Regions from separate parts of the Homo sapiens genome. Here regions 2 and 3 are each linked to region 1. The links are contacts of gene promoters, found by promoter capture Hi-C in blood cells and fetal thymus (Javierre and others, 2016). All regions are on one chromosome and are shown on one strand. Each heading gives the region's core, a stretch centred on a gene start or on the middle of the fragment in contact. The rest is flanking DNA. Distances are from core to core; before and after follow the strand shown.

Region 1 (2,787 bases), core at 142-2,641:
GCTACTTGGGAGGCTGAGGTGGGAGAATTGCTTGAGCCCAGGAGTTCGAGGCTGCAGTAAGCCAAGATTGCACCAGTGCACTCCAGCTGGGGTGACAGAGCAAGGAGACCCTGTCTCAAAAAAAAAAAAATATCCCACAATGATTCCTCACATCCCTAGGATGAAACCATAGCTAGCTAGCATGGTGTACACAGCACACCCAGCCAACCAAGGGCATCTCTCCAGCTCTGATTTCTGAGTGCTTCCATTGCACGCCTACACTCCAGCCCTTCTAGACTATTTGCAGTTCCCCAAATAAGCCATTCTCTCTCTCCTTTCCATGTATTTGCACCTGCTGCTTCCTTTGCCTTGCATATCTGGTTCCTGTTTCCTTCTTCCTAACTCACATTCTATCCACTCCCTCACCTGGCCTACCTAACTCATATTTGGACATCAAAATGCATCTGCTCTGTGAAGCTTTCCTTTAAGTTCCTGGTTCTCACGGCACCCTGCACACAACTCTGTCACAACATGTGCTATTGTGCAAGCATTTTTGCTATTGTCGGTCTCTCTTTACTACTAGAGTTCCTTGACAGCAGAAGCTACATCTAATTTATTTATATATCCTTGGCGTTTAGCAGAGTGTCTGGCTTATAGTAAATAAGTATTGAATAAATAAAAAGGGGCTCTCAATATTGTTATTAGACCACAATCACCACTTAATTCATCTTATTGTGCACCACTTCATATATCCCAATCACTTCTACCAGAAAAAAGATCATCTAAGTTCCGAAATCAGTGTCCACCATCATGCTAAACACACACATAACAAACATATTGTGGTGTTAACCAGAAGACAGAGACAGTGTGAACACAGATGTGTAAAGCATGACCTCTGGTGGCTTTCAGAGGATTCTCTCCCACTCCATATCTCATTTCTCTTCAGAGAACAGTCTTCCAAATAGGGAAATGGGTAGCTTGAAGGAACCTGGGCACTGCCATAACTTATACTCACAATTGATTTGAGCTGCCAGAGCCCCTTGTTCCTCTAGACTAGAACTCTACTTTCCTCTGCTCAAAAACGCCTCTGAAACGTTAGCCGACTTGAATATGGAGATAGGGAGGCAGGCAGAAAACAGACTTCCCTGGTACCCGACTGAGTGTCTTCACCAGAGTCCTTTATGTTACCATCTCTGCTCATCACACAGACAGAAAGAAGACTACCGGCGACCCTACTGGGAATCTGCGCAAGAAACCACAGTACCTTGGAAGCCCGCAGTTCTCCTAAGTAGGAATCATCGTTATCTAATGTAGGCTGCTGGAAAGGGTCCCGGGTGGGAGGCATGGCTAAATGCCTAACTCTTTTAAGAGGGATGGGAGGCCCGCTCAGCCGCAGCACAGCCTCACTGGCATAAGATCCCGGGTCCCAATTGTTTGGAGCGCTGGTTTCGGTTGCCAGGCAACTGCCCAGCCATCTATGACAGAGGAATTCCCTCAGAGGAGGGCGCCACCTGGCGGCTGACCACGGGAGGCCCCTGGGGAGGAAGCTCCGGGGACTGCAGAGGGAACGTTCCGCTGAGCGGGCCCGAGACTTGGAATTGCACTCCTGAGCCTCGGCGGAAAAGTGCTGGCTGCTCACCATCAGGACTTCTGCAAAAGACTTCAGTTGAGGAAAGAAGTCCTGAAAGATGACCCAGAAATTTCCTTCTCCCTCGCACCTAACAAAAGGCTTTCAAAGCCATGAGAGAATGAGGATGTCAAGAGACCAAAGAGGGCCGGGCGCGGTGGTTCACGCCTGTAATCTCAGCACTTTGGGAAGCGGAGGCGGGCGGATCGCTTAAGCCCAAGAGTTCGAGACCAGTCTGGGCAACATGGCGAAACCCCGTCTCTACAAAAAGTAGGAAAAAAATTAGCTGGGCTTGGTGGCACGCGCCCGTAGTCCCAGCTACTCGGGAGGCTAATCCAGGAGAATCTCTTGAACCCGGAAGGCGGAGGTTGCAGTTAGCCGAGATCGCGCCACTGCACTCCAGTGTGGGCGAGAGAGTGAGACCCTGTCTCAGAGAGAGAGAGAGAGAGAGAGAAAGAGAGAGAGAGAGAGAGAGAGAGAGAGAGAGAGAGAGAGAGAGAGAGAGAGGCCCACGTGCGGCGCTTGGGAAATTGCGGCTAAGGCAAACTCCTCGCTTAAACTCGGATCAACTACAGTGTCAGGGCTTCTCTTCTAGCCGGTTGTAAAAGCACGGATGGATTTGGCGGGATGTAAGATCTCCAGGAGTGGCCTTCGTAGGAGGGAACACGTACTGGGGCCTCTTCCAGGCGACGACGTCTGGAGGGTGATCTCTCCATCTTCTTTCTCTCGGTTCACACGCCACGTGTGCAACATCGGAGATGCTCATAAAATAACCCCTGGCCCGAAAGGGCAGTAGAAAACGGAAATTTGTTGGCTGGCTTGGAGGATGCTTCCACTGTGTTCTTCACACGAGCCCCGGGCCTGCCTGTTGGGCCGGTTGCGCACCCCGGGCGCGCGCTCTCCCGCGCCCACGCCGCGCGCACCAGCGGCGGCGGCTGCCATGGCGACCCGCAGGTGAGCTGCAGAGGCGCGCGTGGTCCCTGCCCCACCCGCGCGGAGCCAGAGAGGAGGCGGTTGTCAAGGCGACGTGGGTAGGAGGAGAGGACAGAGGGAGGAGGAAGGATGGGCGGTGTTGGCGTAGCCGCAGGGAGGTGACTGAAGCGAGCCTGGCCTCTTGCATCCTCCGCCTGTGTACCTCCCTCCCCTTTTTTTCCGCCTTCTGCCAGCAGAAGCAGCAGCCG
Region 2 (2,787 bases), core at 96-2,595, 550 kb before region 1:
CTTTATCCATTACCAAATCCCCACCCCCGAACCTGCCTCTGAATCTTTTTTTTTTTTTAATTTATTTCTCCTAGAACAACTTACCCCACTTTGTCCCAAATCATTTTCATCCTTTGAAATTCAGAAAACTGATTAACTTCAATTAATTGCTTCTCTGAGTTCTACATAGCTTGGTGCTAGGTTGTGTTTTTTTAATGACCTGTCTAAACATGTCTTCCTCACTAGATTGTAAAATTCTTGAGGGCAGTTATTGGCTTTTGGTTATGGGGTCTAGCCGATGATTGACATTTTAAGCAATTTTTTTATATGAATGAATGAGTAAACGAGTAAACTGAGAAAGAAAATATTTTCAATTAAACCCTTTCAGAATTACTGTGGCAGAATCTGAGTGAAAATGACAATAACTCAGTTTAAAAACATGAACATCACGTAACCAACTTTGTAACATTCATTGTAACAATACATGCATGATTACAGAAGGCAGGTAATTGTTATTCCCCTAGGGAGATTTTTTTTTAAGCCTGCTCTGAAGATTTTGTTTTGTTTTTAAGACAGGGGCTTGTTCTGTTGCCCAGGCTAGAGTGCAGTGGCGCGATCTCCGATCATTGCAAGCTCCGCTTCCCCGGCTCAGGCTAACCTCCCTCCTCAGCCTCCCGAGTAGCTGGGATTACAGCGTAGCCATGCCAGACTGCCTGCAGAATTTGATTTTAAGCATTTCAGTTCTCAGTATAGACAGACAAATTTTTAAAGGGAGGGTATTATTTTAACTGCTTCTTTGCTCTTTTATCTTTTGTCCTGGGTGACAGGAACTAGATAAGCTATACCCCAGAGAAAGCGCCTGCAGCAGTACGGTGCCTGGGCCCTTGATAGTCCCTCAGCACATCATTTTCCTTTTTCCTACCTTATCTTCCTTTTATATTTGAAGGCTCGTGAATTTAGAGTACCTAACGGAAATTTTAGTTTTAGGATTTCAATTTGACCAAAACAACGCTGAGATTTTAATTGCCTCTATTAACCCATGGCTCTCAAACCCAAAGGAAAGAAACCACTGGAGGGGGTGGGGGAGAAAGGAGGCGGTGCAAAAACTGAAAAGAAAGGCGGAGAGGAAGCGGTAGAAGGAAGCTTTCTCTGTCGGGTTTGTCTTTTTTTAACCCCAGAAAGGCGTGACGTGCTAACTGCCGTCGCGGGTTAGAGTCCGCGGCCAAGCCCGCGCCCGCCCACAAAGTCCCCGCCCTCCCTCCGGCTTCCGCCCCGCCGTGCGCTGCAGGCCGCGGCCGCTGGGGGCGCCCCCGACCCCCGAGGCGCTGAGGCGGCGGTTCCTCGAGCCTCGCCTCTCCCGACTCCCAGACGGGCGGCAGCGGCGGCGGAGGCGGCGGCGGCGGCGGCGGCGAGCTGAGCACCAAAAGGGCGCTCACCTCCCCGGGCGAGCTGCAGCACGACCGCTCCCCGCGGGCGGTCGGGGTCCGCGCCGCAGCTGCCGCCGCGTTCCGGCCCAGGCTGCCGCGAGAGGCGGCGGCAGCGGCCCCGGCCGCGGCCGGCCTGCGGCGCCCCCCGGCCGCGCCCCCGCGCACAGCTCGCGGCCCCGGCCATGGGGCTGGGCTGATCCGGGGCTCGGCCAAGCTGAGGCGGCGGCGCCCGGCCGTGCGCCCAGCTTGCAGGCGCCTGGCTCTCACGATGATGAAGAAGAAGAAGTTTAAGTTTAAGGTGGACTTCGAGCTCGAGGAGCTCTCCTCAGTGCCCTTCGTCAATGGGGTCCTCTTCTGCAAGATGCGGCTGCTGGACGGCGGCAGCTTCACCGCCGAGTCCTCCAGGTAACTCGCCTCCCGCGCCGCCTCGCCCCTTTCTGCTTGGCCAGGGCTTGTTGGATGGGCAGCATCTCTCCTTGGCCCATTTGCTCGCCTTTCCCTAGGGACCGCTCTAAAATCAGTCGAATTTATTGATCTGCAAAGTGCTTTGCAAATGGGTTCTTCTCAGCTGGCCTTGGTTCCTGCGCTCCTGACTCCAGATGGTGCCTGGTATCTGCTCTTCCCTCCCAAATCCTCTAGGAATGGGAGCAATGGCCAGAGAGGGAGGATGCTTCTGTTTTCTCTTAAGACATTTCCATATTTGTGAAATGCAAAGTAGAACTTGAGCTGTTAAAAACTAAAATAACCCAAACTGCAGGAGTTCCAAGAGCCCAGCTCTGAACAGAAACCTGTGCTTAGCACAATTCCTTCTCCCTTGTAGATTACAAGGGGACTTGGCCACCCACTCTGAGGCTGGGGTAGGCCTGGCCAGGCTTGACTTGAGTCAAGTGCTCCTGGCAGACGAGACAACGGTCTGTGCCTCATCAGAGAGCGGCGTCTCCAGTTAGGCGCTAATGCTGGATGAATTAGTCTTGAAGTGGCCACTAGTAGGTCTCCTTGTGGGAGGGCTTAGAGCCAGATGGGGAGCCCAGGCCCTGCCCTCATTTTAAAATGAGCCCCTGGGCACTCCCAGAGAGAGGCATTAGCAGGTTACAGAATGAAGCTATTAAATAATAGGTGTGGCATTAATAATAGGTGTGGCAGTGTTTCTTGAGTAATTTCAGAGCTACTCACAGGTTGACAGATGTACCCTAAGGTGCTTTCTTTAAAATATATACATAGAGAGAGAAAACAATTTTTTAAATGAACTTTTGAGTTCCTGAGATCAAGAAGGGTTAAAAGTTAATGTTATTTTGCCCATATATACTGGTCTTAGGCTTTATTTCTGCCCTAAAAATATTCTACTTAAAAAAAATTCCGTCATCCCATTTATAGTATAAAG
Region 3 (2,500 bases), core at 1-2,500, 540 kb after region 1:
CAGGCACCGCTTCTCTCTCCTACACTCAACCCCTCTCCCACTCCACTGCCTCTCAGTGTGCAAAAACAGTAAGAAGTGTCCCGTATTTTCAAAATCTCTCCCCTGTAGTTCCCACCTGACTTCTAGTCGTAGGTGGCCAAAGTACAGTGTTTTTGAAGGATTGTTTTATTCCCAGTGCCTGGAATATGGTAGGATCTCAACAACTGTTGTTTCAATAAAGGAATGACCAAATGGGTGAATACTAATGTAACAATATCAATTCTGTTTCTTTCATAATTATTCTCATAAGTGTTAGCTTTCTTAAAAAATCATCTTCACAATTGGACCTAGACATTTTATCTTTCCCAGCTCAAGATGGATAAACTCAGAATGACAGGCCAGGCACCGTGGCTCATGCCTGTAATCCCAGCACTTTGGGAGGCGGAGGCGGGTGGATCACTTGAGACCAGGAGTTCAAGACCAGTCTGGTCAACACGGTGAAATCCCATCTCTACAGAAAATACAAAAAAGTTAGCAGGGCGTCGTGGCGCTCGTCTGTAATCCCAGCTGCTCGGGAGGCTGAGGCAGGAGAATCGCTTGAGCCCGGGAGGCGGAGGTTGCAATGAACCGAGATCGCCCTACTGCACTCCAGCCTGGGCAACACAGCGAGTCCCCGTTCCAAAAAAAAAAAAAAAAAAAAGACTCAGAATGACACATTCTTAATGTCTTAATGTATAATGAGAAGTATAACTATTCAGAAGTCCAAGCACTTGTGTGTGCATGGTGCTATCGTCTTGCTGTAGGCAAACCTACATGGGAATCCACCTTGACACATAGGCCACTTCCTGAGCCTGGACCCAGTCTCAGAGCTGGGGAACTGGCCCAATGCAAAAGGGTCGGGAGCATCTGCAACAGAGACTGAGCTCTATCAGCTTCGGTGACATAGCCTCCATTCACGCTCCCCAACTCAGCAGAGAGAGCACACCATCAGACTTCTAAGACTTAGTAGCCAAGAAGTGTTGAATTAAACTCTCTGAGACCTCTCTTTAGTCTGACCCTGGCAGCCTCAGTCTCCCAGAGCCTGTGGGAACTCGGCAGCCGAGAGGCAGAAGGCTGGGCGACGTCCGGAGAAGAAGAAACGGGGGAAGAACTTTTCTCTTACGATCTGGCTTTACTCTCACGCGCACAGCCGAGTCCCTGGGGACCCAGCAGAGGTCCGAAGCGGAGCGGGGCGGGGCGGGGCTACGGAAGCTGGCGAGGCCGAGCCCCTCCTAGTGCTTCCGGACCTTGCTCCCTGAACACTCGGAGGTGGCGGTGGATCTTACTCCTTCCAGCCAGTGAGGATCCAGCAACCTGCTCCGTGCCTCCCGCGCCTGTTGGTTGGAAGTGACGACCTTGAAGATCGGCCGGTTGGAAGTGACGACCTTGAAGATCGGCGGGCGCAGCGGGGCCGAGGGGGCGGGTCTGGCGCTAGGTCCAGCCCCTGCGTGCCGGGAACCCCAGAGGAGGTCGCAGTTCAGCCCAGCTGAGGCCTGTCTGCAGAATCGACACCAACCAGCATCATGTCCATGACACTGGGGTACTGGGACATCCGCGGGGTGAGTGAGGGTCCGCTGCACTGTGGGACCGGGCGCGTGGGCGGGAAGTGCCGAGCGGCTGGGGACCGGCTCTAGGGACGGTTCCCTCCTTAGGGCTATCTCTCACAGGAGGGCCTGTGCATGCCTGTGTGTGTGTGTGTGTGTGTGTGTGTGTGTGTGTGTGTGCGTGCGCCGGGGTGGGGGGGGGGTGCAGTGCAGTGTAGACTAGGGGCTCACCTGGTGCAGAGAAAGTCACCAAGTCAGGGACCCTCCATCTCTGACACGACCTGCGGGCCATCTCTTCCAGCTGGCCCACGCCATCCGCCTGCTCCTGGAATACACAGACTCAAGCTACGAGGAAAAGAAGTATACGATGGGGGACGGTAATGACACCCTTGTGTCCGGGCTCTGCCCACTCACGCTGAGTTGGCACCAAGCAACCCATGGTGGCCACCTGTGGCTACCTCTGCAGGCCTCCCCTGCTGGAGCTGCAGGCTGTCCCTTCCCTGAGCCCCGGTGAGGGAGTCCTGTGGCCTTGCAAGGCAGAATGCTGGGGCGGGATGCTGGGCCCCCTGTTTAATTGGGTTGGGTGTCCCTCAGAGCTTCCCTAAACCCTGGAAGCCTTAGCCGTGTGGGGTCCAGAGCCCTCAGCGGGATTCTTTGTCCCTGAACCCTGGGATGTGGGACTGAGTGGTCAGATTCTAGATCCACCTGTCTCAGGGATCTTGCCACTGGTTCCTTGGGAGGGTCCCCGGGAAGGAGGGCTGGGCTCTGGGGAGGTTTGTTTTCACTTCTTCTTCCCCACGGCAGCTCCTGACTATGACAGAAGCCAGTGGCTGAATGAAAAATTCAAGCTGGGCCTGGACTTTCCCAATGTAGGTGCAGGGGAAGGGGCGGTTTTGGGGGAAAGTGCGACGTGTCTCTGACTGCATCTCCTCTCCCCA

The links. The method cuts DNA at HindIII sites, captures the fragments that hold promoters and counts their contacts. A CHiCAGO score of 5 or more calls a contact.
Region 2: a contact is called between the fragment with the promoter of EEIG2 here and the fragment with the promoter of CFAP276 in region 1, in 7 of 17 cell types (naive CD8 T cells, naive CD4 T cells, activated CD4 T cells and 4 more). The highest score is 9.4, in naive CD8 T cells.
Region 3: a contact is called between the fragment with the promoter of GSTM4 here and the fragment with the promoter of CFAP276 in region 1, in 3 of 17 cell types (monocytes, M2 macrophages and neutrophils). The highest score is 6.3, in monocytes.

The regions. Positions count from the first base shown.
Region 1 is chr1:109,111,356-109,114,142 of GRCh38, forward strand. It overlaps CFAP276 (cilia and flagella associated protein 276), which reads right to left and starts at 1,392. Exons shown (of 5, transcript NM_001245025.3): 1 at 1,244-1,392. The coding sequence starts at 1,324. It overlaps ELAPOR1 (endosome-lysosome associated apoptosis and autophagy regulator 1), which reads left to right and starts at 2,760. Exons shown (of 22, transcript NM_020775.5): 1 at 2,760-2,787. RefSeq lists a silencer at 2,512-2,581. The HindIII fragment of the contact is 3,574 bases long and covers 455-2,787 here.
Region 2 is chr1:108,558,755-108,561,541 of GRCh38, forward strand. It overlaps EEIG2 (EEIG family member 2), which reads left to right and starts at 1,346. Exons shown (of 11, transcript NM_001010883.3): 1 at 1,346-1,811. The coding sequence starts at 1,675. RefSeq lists a silencer at 1,007-1,546 and enhancers at 1,937-2,036, 2,500-2,549. The HindIII fragment of the contact is 6,399 bases long and covers 1,121-2,787 here.
Region 3 is chr1:109,654,849-109,657,348 of GRCh38, forward strand. It overlaps GSTM4 (glutathione S-transferase mu 4), which reads left to right and starts at 1,251. Exons shown (of 8, transcript NM_000850.5): 1 at 1,251-1,577; 2 at 1,864-1,939; 3 at 2,367-2,431. The coding sequence starts at 1,542. RefSeq lists enhancers at 969-1,018, 1,892-2,477. The HindIII fragment of the contact is 5,301 bases long and covers 1-2,500 here.